Regions from separate parts of the Homo sapiens genome. Here region 2 is linked to region 1. Evidence: promoter capture Hi-C in 16 types of primary human blood cells and fetal thymus (Javierre and others, 2016). All regions are on one chromosome and are shown on one strand. The core of a region is centred on a gene start or on the middle of the fragment in contact, and the rest is flanking DNA. Distances in the headings are between cores, read along the strand shown. Region 1 holds the start of CPNE7 (copine 7). Region 2 holds the start of PABPN1L (PABPN1 like, cytoplasmic).

Region 1 (6,192 bases), core at 3,218-5,717:
GGGACGGGAGGAGGTGAGTGGGTACAGGCGGTCCGGGGGCCGGGGAGGTGGTCCAGGGGCCCAGGGCCACTGCTGGTCAGCAGGCTTGGCAGTCAGAAAGAAGAGAGGACCCAGGAGTGGGGACAGTGGGACCAGGAGCCCAAGTCCTGGGGACTCTGGGATGGCTGGTGCCTGAGTCTGAGCACAGAGGGGTCCTGGCTCAGGAGGGCCAAAGGGGGTGAGGAAGAGCCAGTCCCGGACGGTGTCCCCAGCGTGCAGTCCTGGGCAGGGACCCTGACCCCTGGGTCTCACTGCACAGGGGCTGTGAAGTCTGGGCCCCTCCACAGTAAGTGCTCCTGAGGGTCTGCTGGGAACATTCTGGGCAAGGGCAGCAAAGCCATCAAGCCACGCCGGGGGCTGGACGGGCGAAGGAAGGCGTGAGGGCTGGGTTCTGAGCGGGGTTCCAGTTCCACCCCAGGGCCTGGACGGGCCGAGGAAGGTGTGAGCGCTGGCTTCTGAGCTGGGTTCTGGGTTCCAGCTCCACCCCTGCTGTGTGGTCTCAGCCACCACAACGCCCTCTCTGAGCCATGTCTCCCGCCAGCAGTGGTGTCTCCTGCTGGGCAGAGATGCTGGGGGCTGGGATGGTCTGCTCCTGGCTGCATGCAGACAAGGGGCAGGAGGGATGGCGGCCCGGGGCTGCACGCGAGAACGCGCCTGGAGGAGAAGGGAGTCTCGAAGAAGGGGGTCTCATCCACACCCAGAAGACGGTGTTGGGGGAAGGAAGTGGAGGAAGGGGACCCCCTGGTTGGAACATATGTTGCCCTGGGGTGGCCTGTGTCTGCGCTTGTGTGTCTTGGGTGCCTGGCGTGTCTGCGTGTGGGCTGTCTCTCCATGAGTACGTGCACGTGTCTGCGGTATTTGGCACACGTGTGTGGCGTGTGCTCGTGCGTGCCTGCATGTGCTGAGTGTGGTGGAGGAGAAAGTCCCCCTAATCAGTCCCCAGGTCTCTGAGGCTGTAACAAGGTCAGCGAGGAACTGAGACTGGCCAGGTGTGTTGTCTCAGCCAACAGCCGGCGTGGCCGCCTCTGGGCATGGTTGATTTCTCAAATAAGATCAGCATCAGATCCTGCAGGAAGACAATCTGATCCAGACAGGTTGCAGATGTTCTAAGATAAAATAACCTTTCTTTAGGAGGAAAGAAAAGAAGAGGGTAGGTTTGCAACCAGATTAAAAAAAGCAGCACCCATCCGGACACGTGGAGAGCTGTTTCCTGTTAAACAATCCTGTTAGTAACCCCCACCCTCTGCAATTTCTTGTTTTGAGGCAACTTCTGGGACAATCTCTCCACATGAAGGGCAGGTTCGAGGACCCTGCATTCAGGGGTGGGGACCGAGCCCCGGACCGGTCCACTGGAGCACACCAGCTGTGTGCTCAGGACGGCCAGGGAGGAGGCCATGGACTCTGGACCTGGCTCAGGGACAAAGGGCTGTCAGAGTGTGGGGGAGAGCACTGGCTCCAGGGGATGTGCCTCAAGGCAGTAGCAGTGGGCCTGGGGTCTGCCGGGAACCTCTGGAGGCCCTGGACAGGTTTCCCTGCTCCCGGTTGGCCTCGTGGCCAGTGTTACTGAAATGGGAGATGGGGACTCTGTGACTGATGGAGATGACACCCTCGAGGCAGATCCAGGACCAGAGAGCAGCCACCAGAGCTGCGTTTCATTCGCTGATCCGCACTTCATTCATCCGCCTGGAGTTTGTTGTCTTAGACTCTGTGTTGGGACCTGTACTGGTGTTAACTCAGGCCTCGGTGGACTCCTGGTCCAGGGTGGATGAGGTCATGGGCAGCACAGCCCTGGACAGTGGAACTGATGTTGTGGACGTGTGGGCCGGGAGCCCAGGGAGGGATGTTGGGTGGCGGTTCAGACTGGGCTGGGCTTTGCAGGGTAGGTAGGGGTCGGGTGGTGGGAGAGGCTGAGGCAGAGGCACTTGGGCCTGAAAAGTATCTGAGTCCTGGATGCCAGGAAGCCACACAGGGCACTTGGGCACAGATATGTCATTGCTGCTCCTAAAATTGATCATGTGTAAGCCTCTGGATAGCCGTGGGGGTCGGCACTAATCAGAGGGTCTCATAGGTAACCCAGTGATGAGGGGATCCAGGCTAACCATTGAATGCAATATTGTCAATAAGAAAGAAAAAAGCAGGTTACAGAACAGAAACCATCTGCACCAACACCTATGGTGCTCCAACCGTGCCAGGCAGGGTCCCGGGCCTGGGCCGCGTGATGAGCCTGGCGTGGGGTCCCGGGCCTGGCCCGCGTGATGAGCCTGGCGTGCAGATACTGAAGAGTCCTCTCAAGTGTGGGAAGGGCTCTGAGAGTTAGGCACCTTTTTTTTTTTTTTGACAATTAAAAGAAATTTGCACATAAAAAAAAAAACCTGGAGGGTTAGATGTGGGGAGGTGATGGGCTGCTTTGGGGTCTGGAAATTTGTTTTTACTCCCTATCTGCATTGTCTAATATTTCAACAAGGAACACGGTTATTATTCCTGCGTGTATGTGTGTGGATCTCATTTCCTGTGTCTGGCCCTGCAGGGAAAGCTGGGAGGGGGAGCCTTGGAAAGATGGCTCCACATGGCCTGCGGGGTCCTTCCATTGTACCTGGGCCTACTGCGGGCTGATCCCTGAGCAGGGGCAGGCAGCGTCCAGACACCAGTGCCACAGGGGAATCGGCTTTTCCTTCTGTGGTTTCTCTCCATTAGAGCAGGCTGCAGTCAGGGCTGTCAGTCAGGAGACAGCAAGCCGGCCGAGGGCTGTGGCTGGAGATCCCAAATCGCCCTGGGCTTCAGAGACTCAAATTCCCAAACTCTGTGATCTTTCTTGGCTCCCTGCGTCCTTTGCTTGGAAGCCATCTGTTATTTTGCCAGGGTGCCGCTATGTGACAGCCAAGGGCTGAACTGGGGTGTTCCAGGTTTAAGCCGGGTACCCCTCAGACAGCCTGGTGGACCTCAGGCCTCACGCCACACTGCAGACGAGCAAACCTCAGGGCGGTGGTGAGGAGCTTTCGGGTGAGGTCAAGGCAGGAAGCGGAGCTTGGTCTGGGGAAAACTGTCCCAGGGCTGCTGGAACCGAGCGGGAGGCACGGCCTGCAGGAGCTGCCTGGGCGCCCGCACCCTTTGCCTGAATTTCGCATCCTTTTCCCATGGAAGTGGTTGGGGACCGAGGATGTGGCCTCCCGGCAGCCTGGAAGGCTGGGCTGAGGAGGACACAGGGCCGGGAAGGCCCAGACTGGTCCCTAGAGAGCGGGACTGGCCTCTGCCCACTGCGGGCTTCAGGGAGGAGGCGCAGAGGCCGGGGAGACAGCAGATGGGGCCCTGCAGGCCTCGCTGCGCCCTGACCTGTTCCTCGCCTCTTTAGCCAACCTCCCGGGAAGGCAGGAGCCGGTCTCCATGGCCTCTCCCGGCCCTGCCAGCCCCGTGGGGCCTCCCCGCCCTGCAGCCGCGCCCGGCGCCATCCCGCCGTCCGACCGCGAGGGGACGCCGCTGGCCGCGTTCCTCCTCCCAGGCCGAGGCTGCCTGTGCTGCCTCCCGCCGGCGGGGCCCTGAGCCTCCTCGCCCTGTCGGCGGCGGTCCCCTCTGACCGCAGGGTCTTCTTCTAGAGTCCTGATCGCCGAGGCTGAGCGGAGGCGCCCGGTCTTCCCGCCTCTTCAGTCTTAATGTCTCCCTCACCCTCGCCCCCCACCCCCGTGGCTTTTGGCGAGGTCCGTGCCCTATTTTTAGGCAGAAATCGGCAAAAAGAGTGGACTGCGAGGTGGTTTCTGTCCCCGCCGACGCCTCCTCTTCCGCTGCTCCCTCCCCCGGGACCGGTGATGGGGAAGGTGGGGGAGTGAGTTCAGGGCGGAGCGGGCCCACCCCCCACGGAACCCAGGCCTGCCCCGCCCCGCCCCGGCCTCGGGGGACTGGTGTGGACCGTGCCCCGCGGACCCCTCGGAATCAGACCGCGATTCAGCCCTCGGCCCCCCGGGACGGTCCTTCCAGCCCCAGACGAGCGCGGCGCCTGCACACAACAGGCGCCCACTAAATGCTTGTTGATGGAGGTGGCGAGTACCCGAAACCAGCGGAGCCTGGAAATGGGATCCTAGAGATCCGGGAAGGGCGCGGGGATCTGGTGCCAAGCTGGGGTCCCCCTTTTGCCTCCCCTAGTGTCTGCCTGGGTCCGAACCCGGGCTCAGGCCCCGCGCAGCTCGGAGCCTCCAGCCCGGAGCCGGTCCCTGGGCCGGGGATGCGCACAGCCGGGGAGGGCGCGCCCGACCTGACCCCAAAGCTATCAGTTGGGGGGGGGGTCCCCGGGGAATTAGAAGCTGTCTCCTCCCGGGCATCTCCGAGGGGCACCCCTGCCTCTGCCCCCTGCCCTCATTTCCCGCCGCGCCCCTCCCCGGCCCCGCCCCCCGGCCGCGCCCCACCCCCTGCAGTCCCCGCGCGGCGGCCGCCCGAGCCACGTGCGCCCGCGCCCGGCAGGCGTTCAGGGAAGCGCGGCCACGCCTGGGCCGGCCACCATTTCCCGGGCGCCGCGGCGGCGCCGACTCGCGGGCAGCGGCCCCTCAGTGCGCCCAGCCGGGCCCCCGAACGCCGGGAGCATGAGCGCGGGCTCGGAGCGCGGGGCGGCGGCAACCCCCGGGGGTTTGCCCGCGCCCTGCGCCTCGAAGGTGGAGCTGCGGCTCAGCTGCCGGCACCTGCTGGACCGCGACCCGCTCACCAAGTCCGACCCCAGCGTGGCGTTGCTGCAGCAGGCGCAGGGCCAGTGGGTGCAGGTAGGGCCGGGGCGTGGGAGGCCGAGAGGCCACCGGGCCGGGGCTGGCGCCGAGCTGGGGATGCGGAGACCAGAGCGGGCGCGCTGAGGCCAGTGGGGCGCAAGGCGGGGCCCCCCGGAGCTGGGGCTCAGCTCGGGGTCAGGGTTGGGGGTTACCAGGTCTGGGGGTGGGGTGTCCAGAGCTGTGGGGAGAGGCTGGGCTGGAGGAGGTGGCGGCGAGCGGGGTTCGGAGGAGAGAGGGGGGTGCCCCGCAGTGAGGGGTGCGGCCCAGGGTTCGGGGAGGGGGCCCCGGGCCAGAGTGAAGCGCCCAGGCATGAGGCGCGGGCAGGGGGCTCGACCAAGAGGCGCAAGGAGATTGAGGGGTGAGGGGCGCCGGCCGACGGGGGGCGGGAGGCTGGGCGGGAGCAGGCCGGCGAGGGAGCGCGCGCTGGGGTGCGGACCTCCAGGCGTCCGGGGCTCCCGCTCCAACGTGGGTCTCAAGCGAACCCGCTGTGATCGCGGTTGGGGTCCGAAGGGGCACGGGGCCGGCGCCAGACGGGCGCTTCCTCGGTCACCATCTCGCGTGAAACGCGTGGCTTCACCTCGAAAGGGCGAGAAACGCATGGCGCGAAGCCGCAGCGGGCGGAGGAGCCGGAACTCGAACCCCAGTCCGCGCGGGGCGCCAGCGCTTTTCCCCGGCGCAGGGGTCTCTCCAGGCTCCAGCGCGGGCCCGGGCGGCTGCTCGGGCGGTGGAAGGGACGCGGTCACCCGGTGGCGTCTCCGGTCATCCACCTTGAGGGTGAAGGGCCTGCCCCGCCCTCACCGCCTGTCCCCAGGGTTCCGGCTGCCCCCGGAGGCCCCGTGCCCGCCCCTCACAGCCTGAGCCCACCCTTCACATCCCGAGCCCACCATCCCCACGGAGGCCTCGTGCCCGCACCCTCAGAGCGTGAGCTGTACGGGTGGCCCATGTTTGCCCTTGGTTTGAGGTGCAGGATTTTTCAGGATTCTGAAATGAGTAGCCTACTGGCCCAGCTGGGTCTTGTCCTTACGGGGCAGTTGGACCAGGGAACTGCATGGGATGGGAGAGGCTGGTGAGCCCATGGTACCCCAGCCAGGAGGGAGGGCCCCCCTGTACCCTACGCCCCCTCCCCACTCAGCTGGTGCTGGGGAGCGGCCTGCACTTTAGGGCTGCCCAGCCCAGGGTGTGAATCTGATCTCGCCCCCGACTCAGCGTGTCATTCTCGTCCTCTGTGAGCCTCACTTTCCCCATCTGTGATCTGAGGGTGGAGCAGACAGTGGTGGCCAGGGGTGACCCCCAGGGTGGCCCTCGGGATTGTGGTCCCATGGACAGAGAGCAGGCAGGAGGTCTTCCCAGGGTATGAGTCCTCCTGAGGTACCTGGGCGTGGGTGAGCGGCAGAGGGGAGATGGAGGT
Region 2 (6,295 bases), core at 1-2,500, 710 kb before region 1:
GCCCAGGCCAGTGTTTCCTCAAGGTGACGGGGCTGCCCCCAGGGTCAGACCCCCTTCCCAGCAAGGCTGCCTGGCCCATGGCCGGGCGCCAGACCCTCTGGTAGAGATGGGGCCCCATTCGCTGCCTGCCCCTTCACCCCGCCCACCACTCACGTTGCCCACGTAGACGGATCTGTGGTCAGCCTCCACCTTCTCCTCGGGGGTCCCAGAGAGGGGGCAGCCTGCGGAGAACACAGCTCAGGCCCGCAGGCCCTTGGTTCCTTCCTCACTCCTCTCACGGGGAAGGTCGCCCAGGCTTATAGGGGAGGTGACACCTTGGAGCCTGCCAGGCCCAACCTTAATGGAAACTGTGGGACCCTTGCTCAGTGGGGGGCGGCCTGTGCCCTTGGTTCCTACCCACGGTCTCAGGGCTCAGCAGCTGCCCGGCCGCGGTGCCCTCCTCTTCCTCGGCCTGTTGCTGCACTCCTGGAGGCCGTGGCGTCCCCTCGGCCTGCTCCATGGCACACACCTTCATCTTGATGGCCTCCAGCTCCTGCCGACACACGGCCCTGAGCCGGGCAGGCAGCCTGCAGGCTCTGCTCAAGGAAGGTGGGTGTGTGGCCTGCCAGCTCCAGCAGAGGGTCACAGCCCCAAGGGGCAGCCCTTCTCTGGACAGGGACACTCCTTCCTGGGGCAGCTGGCTGGGGATGAACTCGCCCCTGCAGAGAAGCCCCCGAAACCGCACCTCAAGGGCCCTTCCCCAGGCGAGAGAGGCCACCTTGACCCTGCAGTCTGTGTGGCTGGGGGCGGGGGGTCTCCTTGCCACCTTCGTCCAGGCAGGTGGGCAATGGCCCTCTCCCCTCCTAAGTCAGCTGCAGCCATCCGTCACCCAGACCCCGTGTCTCCACCAGCCCCTGTGCCCCAGGTCCCCTGAGATCCCCAGGGCCTCCACACAGCTGTTACCTGGTCAGGCAATGGGCACTCAGCCAGGTTCTCTTGCTCCAGCAGAGACAGCAGAAAGCCTGCATCCCCATCCTGGTCTTCCTCTGCATCCTCTTCCTCCTCTTTCTCCTCCTTCCCTTCCCCACCCTCTGGCCCCAGAATCTCCTTGGTCTCGTTCCAGGCCCCCCAGCCCTGGGCCTCAGGGTCTGAGGAGACCGTCTGGAGCCAGGCCTGAGTCGGGGGTGGGAAGAGAGAGCGGCTCGGGAAGGGCCACATGGTAGAGGGGCAGGAGGAAGGTGGGCCAGGCGAGGCCTCCCCTCCACTCCCCTCGCGTCCGCACCTGCCCAGGCTCTCCTGGAGTTTTAAGCCCTCCCCTGAGGCCAGCTGCTCCCACTAGAGCATTTGCAAAGGCTGAGTGGGGCTGAGCTTCCAGCCTTGGCTCCCGGCCCCGCCCCTTCCCTGTCACTCGGACAGGTACCTCCAGGACACTCTCCCTGGAGGAAGGAGAGGCTGAGTTGAGTGGGGGTCACCGGTCTCTTCTGCTTCCGCCTGGCCACGCTGTGGCTCACTGGAGCCTTGGTCTGTGACAGGGTTCACACCTCAGCAGCATCCACACGGCACGAACGCCACACTGCATGAACACTCGATCTAAGTGGGAACACGGGAGTGGTTTCTTCTAGTACCAGGGACCAAGCAGGCTGGAGAGGTGGCTTCCGACCAGGAGAGGCAGGGCCTGAGCAGAGACCGAGAGCAGGTGCATGGGATGAGAGGGCCGAGGCAGGTTGGGGCGGGGTCCTGGGCCCAGAGGAGGGGCAGCAACAGCTGTCTCTGCATCCTGACCCCCATGGAGTCCCCAGGGACCCTTGCCTCCCTAACCCTTATTCTGGGCCTTTTTTTTTTTTTTCTTTTTTTTTTAGGCAGGAGTCTTGCTTTGTTGCCAAGTCTGGAGTGCGGTGGCGCGATCTCGGCTCACGGCAACCTTTGCCTCCCAGGTTCGGGTGATTCTCCTGCCTCAGCCTCCTGAGTAGCTGGGATTACAGGCACCTGCCACCATGCCCAGCTAATTTTTTTTGTCTTTTTAGTAGAGACAGGGTTTCACCATGTTGCCCAGGCTGGTCTCGAACTCCTGACCTCAGGTGATCCGCCCGACTCGGCCTCCCGAAGTGCTGGGATTACAGGCGTGAGCACCGCACCTGGTCTGGGTCATCTTTTAGGTGGGAGCCACTTCCATGAGGCCAGAATTATTCTGCTGTGGGGCGGGGGCTCCGTGGGGAGTGACGGCGTGAGTTATTGTGGGGCGGGGTCTCCGTGGGGAGTGACGGCGTGAGTTACTGTGGCGGAATTCAGTGGGCATCCGGTGGTGTCTGCACCTGGCTTCACCCATGCAGGGTTGCAGCAGGAGGTGACCCGTGTCCGCCCTTGCGCCTCCCTCTGCACCTGCCACCGCGGCTGCTGGAGTCTGCTCTGGCCTTCATCTCCAGTGCTGCCGTCTCCCACCCACTCTGTGAAGGACTCGGGGCCAGGGGGTCATGCATGGCTCTTACCCCTGCCATTGGTGGTGGGAGACGGGGCCCCCTGCACAGCTCCTACCCCCAGGCCGAGGCCATCCTCTCTGTGACTGCACCCCGGTGTTTAGCCAGTGGGGCTGGGATTCCTGGGAATTTGGGACTGGGGGAGGAGAGAGAGACAGGGCGTGGCCTAGGCTGGAGCTGCACTGCTGCACCATGCACCACCCACGCAGGGCGGCCCTTCCTCCATCTTGGGCTGGGGGCTCGGGGAGCAGGTGGACATGGAGGCTGCCACAGCCTGGGAACCCAGGCTCCTGCACCCAGTCTGTTCTCACCTCTGTAAAAGCCAGAAGGTGTCTGAGATGGGTCTCAATCAATCAGTTTAGAGGTGTATCTTGCCAAGGTTAAGGGTGCACCCAGGAAAAAGAAACACGAAGCCACAGGCAACATCTGTGCTCTGCTTTTTCCAAAGAGGGTTTGGAGGCCGGGCATGGTGGCTCACGCCTATAATCCCAGCAGTCTGGGAGGCCGAGGTGAGCGGATCACTTAAGGTCAGGAGTTCAAAACCAGCCTGGCCAACATGGTGAAACCCTGTCTCTACTAAAAATACAAAAACAATTAGCCAGGCATGGTGGCGGGCGCCTGTAATCCCAGATACTTGGGAGGCTGAGGCAGGAGAATCACTTGAACCCGGGAGGCAGAGGTTGCAGTGAGCCGAGATCGCGCCACTGCACTCCGGCCTGGGCGACGGAGTGAGACTGTCTCAAAAAACAAAAACAAAAAAACCCAAAGAGGGTTTGGAGACTTTTATACTTAAAGGGAAAGAGCGGGCAGGAGGGGAACACAGGAAGGAAAGAAAAGGGAGGGCGGATAAAAGGCAAGTGGTAGCGTTCCTTTGAATCTCTGATTGGCAGTCACCAAATGCACATTTTGAAATGTGGAAGGTGGGGGTAGAGAAGAGAATTACGTAGCCCCACGCTCAGCGACTCTGCGTTTCCACAGAAGATAAAACTGCCACAGGGAATAGGAAGCTGGCAGGTTCGCATTCGCCTCCGGTGAGCGGAGGGTAACGTTAGCTCTGTCCTTTGTCCCATACCTGGGAAGATAAGCTGCTAGATCACACTATCTGGGTGGGATCCAGCAGAACTGTTTCAGAGCCAAGATCTTGGGACCCACAAGGAATTTCCCTGTAAGCGCGATGCGAGGAGGCACAGGCTTCTTCATCTTCGTGGCTGTCCAATTAGGAAGAAAATGGGAGGCAGGTGTGTGTGATTCGGCTCCCAGCTTGACTTTTCCCTTTGGCTTAGTGCGTTTTAGGTCCCGAAATTCTGTTTTCTTTTCCCACCTCCAGGAGGCTGACTGAAGACCATGCTGTCACCCCATCTGTTCACCACCCAGAGGATTTTCTGGGGCAGGCTCATGAGGTCGGGGAGGAATGGGCCTTGTCTGGAACCTGGCTATGGCCCTGGACGCCCCTTCCCCTCTCCCTGGCTCCGCACAGCCACACACTTACGTGTGCGTGGTCCCTGGACGCTGTTCCCCCTGCGAACACGGTGCCACTGTTTCCGGGAGGGCTGCCGGGCTGCTCCTCCTCCCTCGAGAGCCGCTGTCCTCACGCCTTTCCTGCTGTCCGTCCAGTGTTGATGACTTGGCCAGCTCTCCCCTTAGAAACCAAAGCTCCTCAGGGGCAGCGCCCACATCTGCACCGAGGACAGGTACGCTGGGTGGAGTGCGGCCTCAGCCTGGGATCCTCCTGTTGGGATGGAGCCCCCTGCCCCGTGTGTCTGTGCCTGTGTGTTGGAGGGTCTGCCAGCACCCGTGCCTCCACCTCCCTGTCAGAGGCAGGATTGCAACCAGTTCCATCCAAGACCAGAGTCTGCTGGACTCGGCCCAGGCCCTGACGCATGCCCCTCTGAGCTCGGGCCCCGGCCATGGAAAACCTTGTCATCCTCACCCTGTCTGAGATTGCTGACACACAAGGCCCGGCCAGGGCTCCTGCCAGCTGCCTGGCAGGGGACAGACGGCTCCGACCCTGGCCTTTCCAGTGACACTCTTCAAATACACCCTGTTCCAGAGCCGGGCCTGAGGATTCATGGCAGCCTGGCCCCTGGGGCCCCAGCGCCCAGGACAACTCCTATTCCAGACAGGATCCGTGTGTGACCCAACACCAGGGCCCCATGGGGGTGGCTGAGAGGGGCAAGCCGTCCCTTCCTGTGCTGTCCACCCTCAGGTCCCCTGTGTCCCCTCAGTTTTCATTTCTTTTTTTTTTTTGAGATGGAGTCTCACTCTGTTGCCCAGACTGGAGTGCAGTGGCACGATCTCGGCTCACTGCAACCTCCACCTCCTGAGTTCAAGGGATTCTCCTGCCTCAGCCTCCCAAGTAGCTGAGATTACAGGCACCCGCCACCACACCCAGCTAATTTTTTGTATTTTTAGAAGAGATGGGGTTTCACCATGTTGGCCAGGCTGGTCTTGAACTCCTGACCTCAGGCAATCCACCCGCCTCGGCCTCCCAAAGTGCCGGGATGACAGGCGTGAGCCACCGTGCCTGGCCTCCCCTCAGTGTTGTCTGTGTCCCCTGAGGTCCCCTGTGTCCCCCATCGGGGTCGGAGGTGTCATGGCCCCAGCCCCAGCACTGTCTGAGGTGGGGCTGCTCAGGCAGGGGCTCCAGTCTTGGAATCCTCAGGACCATCTCCCGGGTGTAAAGTTGTTGGGACCCCCCCAAAGTCCCCTTTGCAGGCTCAGCCGTTGCCAGCCCTGCAGGGACCCTCGTGGCTGGGGCTGCTGCTCCTCCCTGCCTGTGTGCTCCCGCCCTGCCTCTTCCCCGTCGTGCTCCCGCCCTGCCTCTTCCCCGTCGCCCCAGCCCCACGTCACACACTGGCCTGTTTGTCCCTGCAGTGTGCGTGGTGCATGGGGAGGCCCCGCCCTACCAGGCACGGAGGAGCCCCAGCAGGTAATTAGTGAATTCACGGGTGAGACGAGGCTCAGCCGAAGCCTCCTGGGACCCAAGGAGAGGAACAGCCAGGCGACAGCGAACGTTCGCTTTATTACACGGACACGGCGCTAACCCGACTATTGCATCTCACAGCATCTACAGGCCAAACCCATAGTACGTCAGACGGAGCGGCGAGGGCCACCTCGCAGCCCTGCACAGCCTGCAGACCCAGGGCATGGGCTTCTCACAACTACAGAAAACAACTCAACTCCTCTGGGAGAGTCAAAAAAAAGAGGAGGAGAAAGTAGAGAGTAAGTCCCCTCCCCACCAGGCTGCACATGGCTGTGCCCCCGCCTGGTCCTCACCGGCCCGACCCCCTCGGCCCTGGCAGATGGGGTTGGGGAGCTGACAGCTGGCCTGGCGGGGCTCCCCACCCCAGCCAGGTGGGGACAAGGGAGGCCTGTTGCCGTCATTGACGTATTTCAAAAGCAGGTTTCACTCTGAGTACTGACGCTGAGTTCCCGTTCCTCTGGGTCTTTGGGAAGCTACTCCGGGGCTTGGCTGGATTGAAACATAAAGAACAGAAAGTGTCCAAAATGGAGTTTCCTAGAACTTCGGGAAAATGGAGCAGGGGTTGTCAGCAGCGCCCTGGCCTTATCTCTGAAGTGTGCACGGGAGCTGGCGGGCCTCTGGGAGGCCAGCCCCATGGACTCCCCCCTCTCCTCACTGTCTTCCTCTCCGGCCAGCACGCTCATCATCCAGGGCCCCAGCCCCATTTTGGAGAGCACCCCCTCAGTGTGGGAGCTTGCAGGGCAGTGTGGGAGGAAATAGGCCCCGGGGCTCGGGGATGCAGGGCAGGGAGGCTGCAGAGGACCCTGGGGAGCACCCATCACTCCTGGCAGAATTTATCCAGGCAGGTCTGTTCCCAGAA

What was found. Contacts are between HindIII fragments. The CHiCAGO score rates a contact against its expected background, and 5 or more counts as called.
Region 2: the fragment with the promoter of PABPN1L here is called in contact with the fragment with the promoter of CPNE7 in region 1 in 1 of 17 cell types (erythroblasts); the score reaches 5.4 in erythroblasts.

What each region holds. Positions count from the first base shown.
Region 1 is chr16:89,571,291-89,577,482 of GRCh38, forward strand. CPNE7 (copine 7) reads left to right here and starts at 4,468. Exons shown (of 15, transcript NM_153636.3): 1 at 4,468-4,781. The coding sequence starts at 4,608. RefSeq lists silencers at 2,674-2,931, 3,392-3,621, 3,862-3,931. The HindIII fragment of the contact is 46,566 bases long and covers 1-6,192 here.
Region 2 is chr16:88,865,410-88,871,704 of GRCh38, forward strand. It overlaps PABPN1L (PABPN1 like, cytoplasmic), which reads right to left and starts at 1,251. Exons shown (of 7, transcript NM_001080487.4): 1 at 943-1,251; 2 at 397-532; 3 at 154-221. The coding sequence starts at 1,197. RefSeq lists an enhancer at 5,819-5,958. The HindIII fragment of the contact is 14,417 bases long and covers 1-6,295 here.